Linked DNA regions of Homo sapiens: regions 1 and 3 are each linked to region 2. Evidence: promoter capture Hi-C in 16 types of primary human blood cells and fetal thymus (Javierre and others, 2016). All regions are on one chromosome and are shown on one strand. Each heading gives the region's core, a stretch centred on a gene start or on the middle of the fragment in contact. The rest is flanking DNA. Distances are from core to core; before and after follow the strand shown. Region 1 overlaps LOC124906112 (a long non-coding RNA gene). Region 2 holds the start of AOX1 (aldehyde oxidase 1). Region 3 overlaps LOC124906112 (a long non-coding RNA gene).

Evidence for each region. Contacts are between HindIII fragments. The CHiCAGO score rates a contact against its expected background, and 5 or more counts as called.
Region 1: a contact is called between a fragment that was not itself captured here and the fragment with the promoter of AOX1 in region 2, in 2 of 17 cell types (megakaryocytes and endothelial precursors). The highest score is 8.0, in megakaryocytes.
Region 3: a contact is called between a fragment that was not itself captured here and the fragment with the promoter of AOX1 in region 2, in 1 of 17 cell types (endothelial precursors). The highest score is 5.3, in endothelial precursors.

The regions. Positions count from the first base shown.
Region 1 is chr2:199,995,947-199,999,814 of GRCh38, reverse strand. All of the region lies in intron 2 of LOC124906112 (a long non-coding RNA gene), which reads left to right. Among named protein-coding and RNA genes, the nearest start is that of MAIP1, 42 kb to the right of the region's middle. The HindIII fragment of the contact is 2,678 bases long and covers 929-3,606 here.
Region 2 is chr2:200,583,831-200,587,626 of GRCh38, reverse strand. AOX1 (aldehyde oxidase 1) reads right to left here and starts at 1,613. Exons shown (of 35, transcript NM_001159.4): 1 at 1,474-1,613. The coding sequence starts at 1,518. It overlaps SGO2 (shugoshin 2), which reads right to left. Exons shown (of 9, transcript NM_152524.6): 9 at 3,531-3,796. The HindIII fragment of the contact is 4,080 bases long and covers 1-2,983 here.
Region 3 is chr2:200,012,384-200,016,544 of GRCh38, reverse strand. All of the region lies in intron 1 of LOC124906112 (a long non-coding RNA gene), which reads left to right. It overlaps LOC124907962 (a long non-coding RNA gene), which reads right to left. Exons shown (of 2, transcript XR_007088035.1): 2 at 4,120-4,161. Among named protein-coding and RNA genes, the nearest start is that of MAIP1, 59 kb to the right of the region's middle. The HindIII fragment of the contact is 990 bases long and covers 2,035-3,024 here.

The DNA.
Region 1 (3,868 bases), core at 1,018-3,517, 590 kb after region 2:
TGCCATAATAAGATGAGATTTTTGATGGACCTGAAAAGACTGCAGTAGATTTGCAAGGGGGGAAAAAAAAAGAAATGAAAAGCCACAATTTCTTTGAATTTCCTCCCATTGCCATTTGGTCCTGTGACCTGCATTTGTCAATGGGACATTAGCAAATGTGATGCAAAGAGACATTTGAAACACGTGCACATTGGGGTTCAGAATTGCTGCTTGGAAACTATGCAAGCAAGCTTGAACTAGCCTCTTAGAGGAAAAGAAGATGTGGAAGCAGGCCACGGCCACCCATCCTGCCCTCAAGCGGATTGCAACCACATGAGTAAGCCTGGGTCAGACCAGCAGAACTGCCCATATGAGTACAGCCCAAAGGGCCAACTTACAGAATCATAAGCCAATCAATGATTATTTTAATCAGTACATTTTGGGGATTGGTTTGTTACACAGCATAAATTAACTGCTACCGTAACTCTACAGCACTTTAGGGATAGCAACCTCAGCACCATGAAGAGTCAGAGGGAAGTTCCTGGTGAGTCCTACAAAGACTCATTATCTGACTCACTGGAGATATCAAAGATACCAGCTTATGAGAAGGAACACTGGCGACTCTGATTACTGACTTATTTTATACATCCAACATTTGCACATAAAGTTTCCAATCTTGCTAAGTTATCAGTTTCTGAAACTGCCTGAGAAAAAGGTAACTGCATGGTCTACTACACCTACCTGACATTTTTAGGCAGTTTTTCTCACTTTAATTTTACCTTTGGCTTATGAAATCTTATATAATGGATCAGTTGTGCTCCATAAAAGCCTTGGAATTTTATCAAATTGCATGTTGTTAGTTGACCCCTGTGCATCTCTCTCCATTATCCTGGCCCACTGCAAGGAACGTGCGATTAAATGTCATTAACCAACCAGAACTAAAGAAGCTTCATAAATAGACATGCTAACCTTTGACCAAACGCAGTTCATAAACTCTTTCAGGAAAGAAATGCTGGAGATTTCTTATAGCATTTCTGTTTCTGAGTTAAATTGGGACTATGTGGAGTGGAAAGGGTACTAAACTCGGAGTTAAAAGGCCTAGCTTCTTGTTTAGATCCTTCCTTCTCTTTACTGGGAGATCTTGGAGTTATTTAACCTCACTAAGCCTTGGTTTTCTCATCTGCTAATGGAAATGATGAAGCCTTCCCTTCCCACCCTCACAGGGTAGATGTGATGAATACATAAAGTAAATCCTTTGTTTGCACATGTCAGCATCAGGTGCTGACTGGCCCACAGAGACCTTGCTTTTGAATATTTTTAATGATACTATTTCACCTATACACAGTACTGTAGGAGGAAAGTCATAGTGGCAGTGCTTACTGGAGAGAAGAGAACCCAGTCTGAAATGCTGTCAATGCAAAGCCCTCCAGTCCTTGGTGCTGACTGTTAAGAAGAGGCCTGGACCCTCCTGCTGTCTGGCCTCTGACCATGCTGTGGAAGGCCTTTCTGGCATGCGTGGCATTGACTCATTAGATCAGGACTGAAATCTCCATTGCTATGTCTGCAAGATGCACCTCTGCCAGAACGATCCCTGTGTTTCTTGCATACACACCCCTAATATTTGTGGGAGCCGGAGGACAAATGAAAATCCATATGCCTGATATCTAAATATTTAAAAGGATCAAGGAATCTAACAGAGCACTTAAATAAAATATATTATATCCTCATATCTTGACAAATACACTTCACACTGACCTTGAAGGCTAGTTTTGAATTTAGAACTCCTCAGACTTCTCAGAGTCCCTTTCCAGGATATAGTGGGCCTTTCTTTTCCATCCCGCAGTATGAGGGCCTCAAGATCTCACGTGTGGACACCCCTGTCTCCATGTCCAAGCTCCATCCACACTCCTCACAAGTGTCTGTTGTTTTGGCCACCGATCAGATTGAGGAGTACATTGGGGGAGCCTGTCCACACTCAGAAGGACAGACCTGTGCAGAGGCTCATGCAAGCCCTGAAAATTGGCTCAGGACATTTGGGCAGAGACTTCCGGGGTCTTGGCTACTGAGGCATGGTCTGGAAGGGGAGGCGTCCAGTGGCCAGGTTCCCTTGGTCCTGCAGATTCCTCAGCTATTACTGGAAACCCTGAGGCCTCTAGTTTTCAGGTCCACTACTCCTCTCTGTCCAACTTCAAAAGCAAGCCATGACCCGAGAAGAGAATGGGCTGGCAACCAAGGGTGACATTAAAAGATATTTTTAACCAGCATGGCATGAGTACCATCCAATCATCTAACCATTACACCAGCAAAAATAGACACGGATGATGAGAAATTGCTATGGCCATAGTTCTACTTAGAACTGGCATTGCTCTATATCTGACATTTATCCTTGGCCTTCTTCCCTCTCCCTGCTACCTTGGCAAGGCCCACACAACTGATATTCTGCTTCAGTTGATTTCCTGGGCTGGAACCCTTTCCTGATCCTTAGTGTCTTTGACTGGGGCAGGCTCTGATACTCTTCCAAGTTCTTCCCGTCTCCTTTCCCCAGGATGCTAAATCAAGAAGATGATCTTGATGCATAGTGTCATTACCTGCCTATGATAAAACTGCTGCCTGGATCCCACCGCTACCACCTACCCACTAGCAGGGGGACCATGGAATGCTGCGGTTATTCCTCCCCTTGACCCTGTGAGCATTGGACAGCTGTTGAGACATACAGATTGAGTTTGACAAGATGCAAACACAGAACAATAGGGAACAAGGGTGTGGCTTAAGCAGGATCCTGTACTTCTGGTATCTGCCCTATTTCCAGCCTTGCTGATTCCTGGCTTCAGGTTCTGTGACCAGAGGCTCTTCTTCATCCCATGCCTCCAGCCTGGAATTTCTGCATCTGGCATCTCCTGCTCCACTCTCTTTCCACCCTAGTTGTCTCACCTGGTTTGCTCTTTCCACTCTTCACTTCTAGCAGAAGCTCTTTCCTGACTTCCTTTTGGCCTGTGCTCCAGCACTGTCTCTCTCTGAGTACCCGGCTAGTCGTCTCCCATCCCAAGCTCAGCTGGCATTCCTGATACCCTCCATGGGGCAAACAGGCCCTGTTGTCCCAGGAAGTGTCACATAGACACCTTGGCCCTCGGTAGAAGTACAAACAGAGGCCCACATACCATATGTCTAAATATTTTAAAGTTATACATTAAGCCAACCAACTGTTAAATAAAACATGTCCTACTCTCCTACTTTGACAAATATACCTTCACAGTGTCCTGGAGGTCCAGATGGAAATTTTAATTTCTGGGACTCCTCAGAGTTTTATGCCAGAACATAGAGACAGTGAGAACCAGCCCCCAGTCTTTGGCCCCACCCTGCTGCACAACTTCCTTTTCTTTCTGACCTGAATTTGCCCAACATGGTGAGGGGCCTTGCAAGGACAAGTATGCACTTCCCAGCCTTCACAGCCAAACTCCACCCACATTCCCTGAAGAGAGCTGCTCCTGGCCCACCCTGTCCTCAGAGTGACCAGCCCTAGAAGTGGGCCTGAGGCTATCAGGACAGGGAATTCTGGGGTCTTGGGTACCTGGAATATGGTCTCAAAAGGAGGATGTGGGCTTTGGGGTGGGGATGCTCCCTCAAGCTTCAGGCCTATGGCAGGAGCTCCTCTTTCCCTGGCCTAAGGGCTGTTCTGAGAGAGAGAATGAAGAAATTTGGGTTTAGATAAGTCAAGTTGGAGGAGCTGGTGAGAAACCTGTGTGGAGATGTCCTGCAGGCCTTTGGAAATGTCCATGTAAAGTTTGACCAAAGAACTACGCACAGTAGAAACCTGAACATCACTGAGCTGGAGAAATGGGATTGCGTGGGCTTTCCCACACCAGCTGATGATGGTATAGAGTTGTTTAAA
Region 2 (3,796 bases), core at 364-2,863:
ATCTTATCCAATGTAGAACCCAGGCAGCAGGGGCAGACAAAGTTTTTGAGGGGCCTAATGTACAATTTGGGGGATCCTCTTTAAGAAACATAATACAAAACCACAAATGAAATTAGGCTCAGGGTCTTAGAACAGGCCTCACAACTAGGGCCTGGTGCTTCACACTGGTTAGCTTCCAGGGGAGGCAGCTGGTGCCCGTCGGGAAAAGTGTTGTGGCTGCCCTTAGCCAGAAGCAGTGGTCACAGGTGGCTCTGAATGAACCGGCACCAACACGAGCACCAGGGAAATCAGGTGCCACTGCTCTTGCTTGGTTGTTAGCTCTGTTTTTGTTGTTTTTAAGAAATAGGATCTCACTCTTTTGTCCAAGCTGGAGTGCAGTGGTGTGATCACAGCTCACTGTAACCTTGAACTCCTAGACTCAAGCAATCCTCCTTCACCCTCCCCAGTAGCTGGGCTGCAGGCACGCACCACCACACCGGTTTTTTTTTGTTGTTGTTGTTTTGTTTTGTTTGGTTTTTTTTTTGTAGAGACAAGGTTTCGCCATGTTGCCCAGGCTAAACTCGAACTCCTGGGCTCAAGCAATCCTCCTGCCTCGGTCTCCCAAAGTGCAGATTACAGGCGTGAGCCACAGCTCTCAAGGGAGCTCCTTAACCTTCCTGCCTCAGTTTCCTCCTTCAGAGTAATGTCAATGAAACTGGAACATTAAGAGTGAGCAGAGTTGATGCTCACATTAAGGGGGGTGTTTTAAAGGATGCCCAGGGGGCTTTGCTTCTCCCAAACATCGGACACTGCCTGGAACTGTCCCTCGGGTTGCGCAGAGCGAGCCCAGCTTCTGAGGCGACAGAGCCCGCACCCAGCAGTGGAACCCGTGAGGACCTTGGAGCCCCCAGAGCCTGACTTGGGTTCAGCTCTGCCAGGAACTAGCTGTGACTTTGGAAAGTAACGATTTCTTCATCTGAGAAACGATGGGGGTGGTTTGAATGTGTTCGTCTCTACGGTCTTGTCCCGAATCTAAGTTGCTCTCTGCGCTTCCAAACGCACCCCGCGAGCTGAGGCTCAGCCATTTCTGTAGGCTGCTCTCAGTGTACTGGGGACGTTCCCGTTATCGGCTGGGATTGAGGGAACGAAGATCTGGGAGTGCTGACCCCTGATGGGCAAGAATACTTTTTATCTTACTGTTTAGGGAGGGCGTGTGGTTGGAAATCAGCTTGTGAGCCTTGGAAGGAGAGGAAAGGGGAACATAAGGAAGGTGGGGGCCCAAAGATCCAGGACAGTCCCTGAAAACGCAGCCTTTAGCTGCCCCGGAGGCAGGGGTGGGAATGCGAAGGCAAAGCCGCTGTTACGGGAGAAAGCCAGTCCGTGCCTGAGTGCCTTAAACGGCGGGCACGAAAGGATGGGACGAACGGCAGGGGCTCCTCTCTGCCCCGGCCCTGGCCGCAGGTCTGGGGGCAGAGGAAGCCCGCGGGCGCTCACCTTGCGGCCGTTCACGTAGAAGAGCAGCTCGGACGCCCGGTCCATTGTGGTGTCCGCGCTGGTTCGAGGGCCCGGAGCGGGAGGCGGAGGTTCTGGGAAGTAGCGGGCACCTGGGACCCGGCGGCACCGACCCGCCGAGTGGGGCGGGGCTTGCTGGAGCCTAAAGTCCAACCCATCCACCCCGACGGAGAAAGCCTTGATTAAGATCCAACGTTCCTGAGCTCTTTGCCAGGAACTCTTCCCGGGACACCAGCACGTGTGTGGGCGTCACTGGCGCCCTCTATGTGGGCGGAAATCATCCGGCGAAGATGAAGACGACCCCTTCATCTCCTCGCCAGTGGCGCTTAGCGTCTGTGTCACACCCTCTTGCGTCTTAGCAAACATTGTAAGTCCTGGGACATTGCTTTTGATGGTCTTATGTTACTGCATATTTTAGGTGGTGTTCCAGCTGGATTTAAGTCTGGGAACATTAGTAACTCCCCTCCAACCAGGCCTGCTGTAGTCCTGGACTCTTAAGTGTAAACAATCATATTTATTCCAACTCTGCAAGAGCGGATCTTAGGGAAAACAAATAGGTTTACAACTTGATCTTTTAGAAATATAAGGTTGGTGCAAAAGTAATTGCGGTTTTTACCATCACTTCCAATGGCAACAACTGCAATTAATTTTGCACCAACCTAATAATTACTGGTTTTAAAATGAAGTGCTATCTTGATATAAACTTAAAAATTTTATCACTATTTACAGTTTATCCAGTAACTAACCACAAAGTTTATCTGGTAAATAAGAACAGAGATGTAAAACATCTTGGAAAACTTAAAAAAAAAAACTTGGAAAATACAGCAAAGCATAAAAATAAAGAACACCTGTAAGCCCACAACTTAGAACTTACCACCGTTCACTTTTTTAGTCTATCCTTACTTTTTGAAACATGTACTTTTAACACCTTTAAAAACTTAAGTGGGACAAACTAGTTATTTTCCAGGCTTTTTTCACTTGCCATACCTTAGAACATTTTCCCATGTTATTTCATTTATGTAAACACAAAAATTTTATTGTGAAATTTTCCAAACTTTGCACATAAAAGTGAAGAGTGCAATTGGCATCTACCTGCCCTTCACTGAGCTTTAACAATGGTCAACGTTTTGGCATACTCCATTTTTTGTAGTATTTAAAAGCCAATCCTGGACATATTTTAGCCCTAAATACTTCAAAAACACACATACACATCCTTTTAGTCAGCCGCAACACCATTTCACGTGTCTAAAAAATGTCTTTTACACTTGACTTCTTTGAATCAAACAAGAGCTGTGCAATGTATTTGCATGTGGTCTCATCAGTCTCTTTTGATCTAAAACAGACTTTTTAACACTATTAACACATTGAAAAAGAAACCAGGTCAGTTGTTCTATTGAAATGAACCATTTTTTGAATGTGGCTAATTGCTTCTCCCTGGTATTGTTTTTCTACTCTACTTATTTCCTATGCACTAAATATTAGATCTAAAGCTTTGATTAAATTCAGGTTCAATTTTTTGGGGGGGAGAGGGCAAGAACACTTCATAGGTGGTACCATATAATTAATATTGCAGCACAGCAGGAAGCATATGGTGTCTGGTTGTTTCATTCGTAATGATGCTAACATTGATCAGTGGGTTCAGAGGGCTATTCCTTTGTAATGAATTTCTCCATCAACATTTCACCTAATTGTTTTACATCCATTGTTGAGCATTGCCTGAGCGGTAGTTTTAATAGGGGTTTGCAATTTTTCTAATTCTAGCATTTCTTCTTCATTCATCAACTGGGATTCTTTGAATAAAACTATCCATCCTTCACTAGAGCTATTGACTAAACCCCTCCAGCACTCTGTACCCCCACTGCAGTCTCTCAAAGTGTGGTACTAGGACAATCCTCGGACGGACTCACCTGAAGCATCTGATTAAGATGCAGATTTCTGGGCCCACCGCGTTAGTGGTCAGATATTGTCTAAAAAAGTTTTCCATCTAGGTGGAATAGAGTTTGAGTAGTCATTTGAATTCAATAAACTGTGTATTGATCTCAGATATGAACAGGATTTATTACTACTTATTACTGGAAGAGTAAGTGATCTTTAAAACCAAATTATAAAAACCAAATTCAAAAGAGCCTGAAAGGTTAATCTCCTCCTCTAAGTCATCAGATTACATATAATAGAAATAATACAGAAGCTGACATTCAACATGTATTTCTGAAAACAGAAGAATGAAGGGAGAGAAAACGGGCCAGGGCAGGAGGTGGCTTTTAAACCCTTTTGGATGTCCACATATATTGAATGGGTTAAAAAC
Region 3 (4,161 bases), core at 1,280-3,779, 570 kb after region 2:
TTGAACACATAAGATCTCAGTTTACAACTTATGAATTCTTTCTAAATGAATTATTGAAAGCTATAGTAAACTGAGAAATTGGTTTTAAAAAAAGAAGTGTAATTCGAGGAAAAAATAGATACTAATAGGAATTTTAATTAAAATTAAATAATTATTGATAATATGGCTATATGACTCTATAATTTTTTAAAAAGATAAGCATGCCATAAAATATTTCATAATAATTAGAACTTAAAATTCAAAGCAATTTCAATGAAACTAGGAAAAGAGAAAGAGAAAGTAAGTGAGAGGATTTTCCCTTATTCTGGGGGGGAGTGAGATTTTAAATACAGAATAAATATCAATTCTGAGAAAAATGTGAGTTTAAATATATTTATTAAAAACCTAACAATAACTACTGGAACAGTAAAAATAAGATTTGTAACTTTCAAATACCAGGTGAAAAAAGAAAACCTTATCATCAAAAGAGAAGAACAGCTACCCAAAACAACACAAAATAGAAAACAAGCAAAACCAAACCAAGACAAAAAAGCCTTACAAAGAGAAAACACAAAATGAGAAAGCAAAAATAAGATTGATTGATATAACAAATACAGCACTTTCAAGTCCTAGGGACTGTTCAGAGCGCTTTACAAATATTAGCTGATTTAATCAAACATACAATTACCTCAATAAATGTGAATAGGTTAAATTCCTCAATTAAGAAAACCAGATTCTGATGTCTTAAGTTGTGTTAAAACAAGACAAGAGAGAAAGCAAGAGAAATAATGTCTTTAAACAAAATGACTAAAGTTTGTTAAAACAAAAAGCCAGGAAAATTACACCAAAATAAAACAAAGTAGCAGGGATGGCAGTATTACTATTGAACAAACTAAAATTCAAATCAAACAGGATTAAATGGAATTTTTAAAAATTACATGTATGTAAATATATGTCACTATATGTCATTATATTTCATATTTTTAAAATATAAAAATTTAAATATAATATTTTAATTTTTAAAATACAAAATATAATAATAAATCTGTAAATTTGTAAAAAGCTTTAAGAGCACTAACCTATGAGCCTTAGGATAATATCAAACATGTTTATTCAAAACTATTAGAAATGTCAGGATTTGAATTGATTCATGGAGTTGCAAAGGGAAGGAGACATTTTTGGCAAAAAGAAATTACCCTACCTGGTCAGCGAAGCCACTAGTGAGGCCACTTTGACTAACACTGAGGGTCTGTGGAGGAGGCTAAGGAAGAAATAAGATTAGAAAGGTGGAGCAGGTCTAGCTTTTACTTCCAGGAAAGGTGATGAGGATCAAGGGAGAGATGTGATTACAGGTGTCCTTTAGAAAGGTAAATCAGGGCTGGGCACAGTGGCTCACGCCTGTAATCCCAGCACTTTGGGAGGCTGAGGCGGGTGGATCACGAGGTCAGGAGTTCAAGACCAGTCTAACCAAGATGGTGAAACCCGGTCTCTACTAAAAATACAAAAATTAGCCTGGCGGCGGGGTGGGTGCCTGCAATCCCAGCTACTAGGAAGGCTGAGGCAGAGAATTGCTTGGACCCTGGAGGCAGAAGTTGCAGTGAGCTGAGATCATGCCACTGCACTCCAGCCTGGGCAACAAAGTGAGACTTCATCTCAAAGTGAGACGTGAGACTCACTTCACAAAGTGAGACTTCATCTCAAAAAAAAAAAAAAAAAAAAAGAAAAGAAAAGAAAGATAAATCAGGCAGCAGCATGCAAAACTGGCTGGAGAAGAAATGGAGTATTGGCAACACAGGCAGAAGTGCATATTCACTATTAGTAAATCAGTAGTACATTTCCACATTACCCTTATGCTCTTAGTCTATCAGAAAGAAGTATTTGGAAGTTGAGTTCAATAATATGAAAGTCTTCTGAAAATTGAGGTGCTTTAAATATGTAATATTAATATTAATTATTCTCATTCATTCTATAGTATTATATTTAAATACTTAAAGTCTCTAAATCATGATCATAAATTGGTATCTACAATCCTTATCCTGTAGGTAATTGAAAGCTTTGAAGAACTTGATCAAAGTGAATTCTTTCACCAAAGATCTAAGAATAGCCAGAAGATGTTCAATTACAGAGGCAGTCCAGGCATATCTGCTTTTCCTCCCCTTTCTCTCTTTGCACTGTATCCCCCTCTACCCTATACGGAGAGTTTGGATATGGAAATTTTGGAAGGGTCCTATTAGCTACAAGGACATAGCCTCCTATGGGAGAATCTGTCTTTTTCAGATATGAAATCAGTTTTATAATTTTAAGGAAATTTTTGATACCTACATTTTTAAGGAAATGTCATTCTTGACTCTGCTTAGGCTATGCACAGGAGCAGGCCGGCGGAGAACAGATTTTCCTCGTTTTAGGAACTGTTGTTAGTAATGCACTCTCCCAATCACCTGCATCAATGAAGGGGAGCCAAAATGGAAATAATCCCAATGGTAGATCATCCAAAAACATATGGCTGTTTAGTTTGGAAGTACATTCAATTACTTTTTCTTGCAGCTAGGTCTTTCTAAATCTGTATTCCCTGGTTATTGCTAAAGTAATTTGCTATCCCTGACCACACACTAATTCATAATGGGAAGAATGGCCCAGGTGGGCTGGTTGGCAATGGTGCATCAGCCTGAGATTAACCATTTGCCACAGATAATTACAAATGAGTAATTCAGAGCCAGATAACTGAGAATTCTTATATACTATATGTTTTGTCTCAGGAGGCCAACTGTAAAATTCCTGTGATTTCTATGATTCTATGTGCATGTGTGTGTGTGTGTAAGAGAGAGAGAGAAATTAAGAAGAATTTATGATAATTTTATGGTAATCCTTTAGCACTAAAAGAGAATTAATAAGGCCTTGCTTTTAGGAATTGAAGTAACATCTTTAGCTGCTTTCTAACTTTGAAAATGTGAGGATTTTGATTTTTTTAAAAAAAAATCAACCATAATCTTTAAGTAAATGACTTTAATGTCACATACCAGAAAGGGAACATATAAAGATGAAGCTTATCATTTCTCAACTAGTTTCATCAAGAATTATAATTTTCAATGGGTAAACTTTGAGAGAAATTATACTATTAATCGTTAAACTCAAGAGTTTTATCAAAGCCTCAAACATTATCACTGGCAACAAAAGACTGAATATAAACATAGTTAATTATTTCTCTGGCTTTACCAAATACCATTGTGAGGTACTGAAGATACCTATTAAGATAGACATAATTATTATTGAAGGATATGATTTATTTATATATTTTCCATAATACCTATAAAATAAATAAGTTAGAGGAAATCATAATCAAAATGTGTATTAAAATAACATTGTCAATAGCTATTGATATTTGGCAATAGCAGTCAATAAATTAAATAATTACAAGCTTGTCAAAATTTTGTATTGGAGATGATTGTCCTTTACCCAACTATCATTTCCTTGATGCCCATACCCCTTCTTAGAGAGCATACCTGGCACTGCCTGGAAAGAGCACTAGAACACTGTGTCCTTGCCTATCTGAGAGTGTGAGCCCATCACACTGAAGCTGAGCCCATCACATTCTCTCTCCTGGTTTTGGATGTGCAGACTAGAAACACCATTTGTAATCAGAGGTGGGTGCTGCTCTTTTAGGAGCACTGGTAATGGGAATTTTTCCAAAGACAAAAGAATGAAACAGGTGCAGCAGAGACAAGGAACCAGGGGCCAGAGGGACAGGAAGAAGAGGAAAGTGAGAGTAAAAGAATTTTACTGATAACCTTCTGGTTCTATAAAATTTTTTAGTTCTTGCTAAAACTGGACACCTTGAGATGCTGTATCCTTACAATAAACTTCTCTGTAATTAGCCGAGCTTAAGTGGATTTCTTCTGGCAACTATGCATATGAAACTGCTCAACCACTATGTTAATTTTCAAGTCTTCTAAAGATGGTAACAACTTAAATTTCCCTGCCAGAATTTTGGAGAGAGGCAAGCAAATCTGACATCAGAAATGTAGTTGTCTCACTTTTGGTTTAAATCCTGAATCAGTTTAGGGAAGCAGTGGGTGAAGATTATTTTTAAACAGCCCACAGTCAACTTATCCTACTCAAAAGTATGACCAAAACACTGAGGAGGCAGAAGAGATAAAGAATTTTTATTTTCTGATAAGTAGTGGT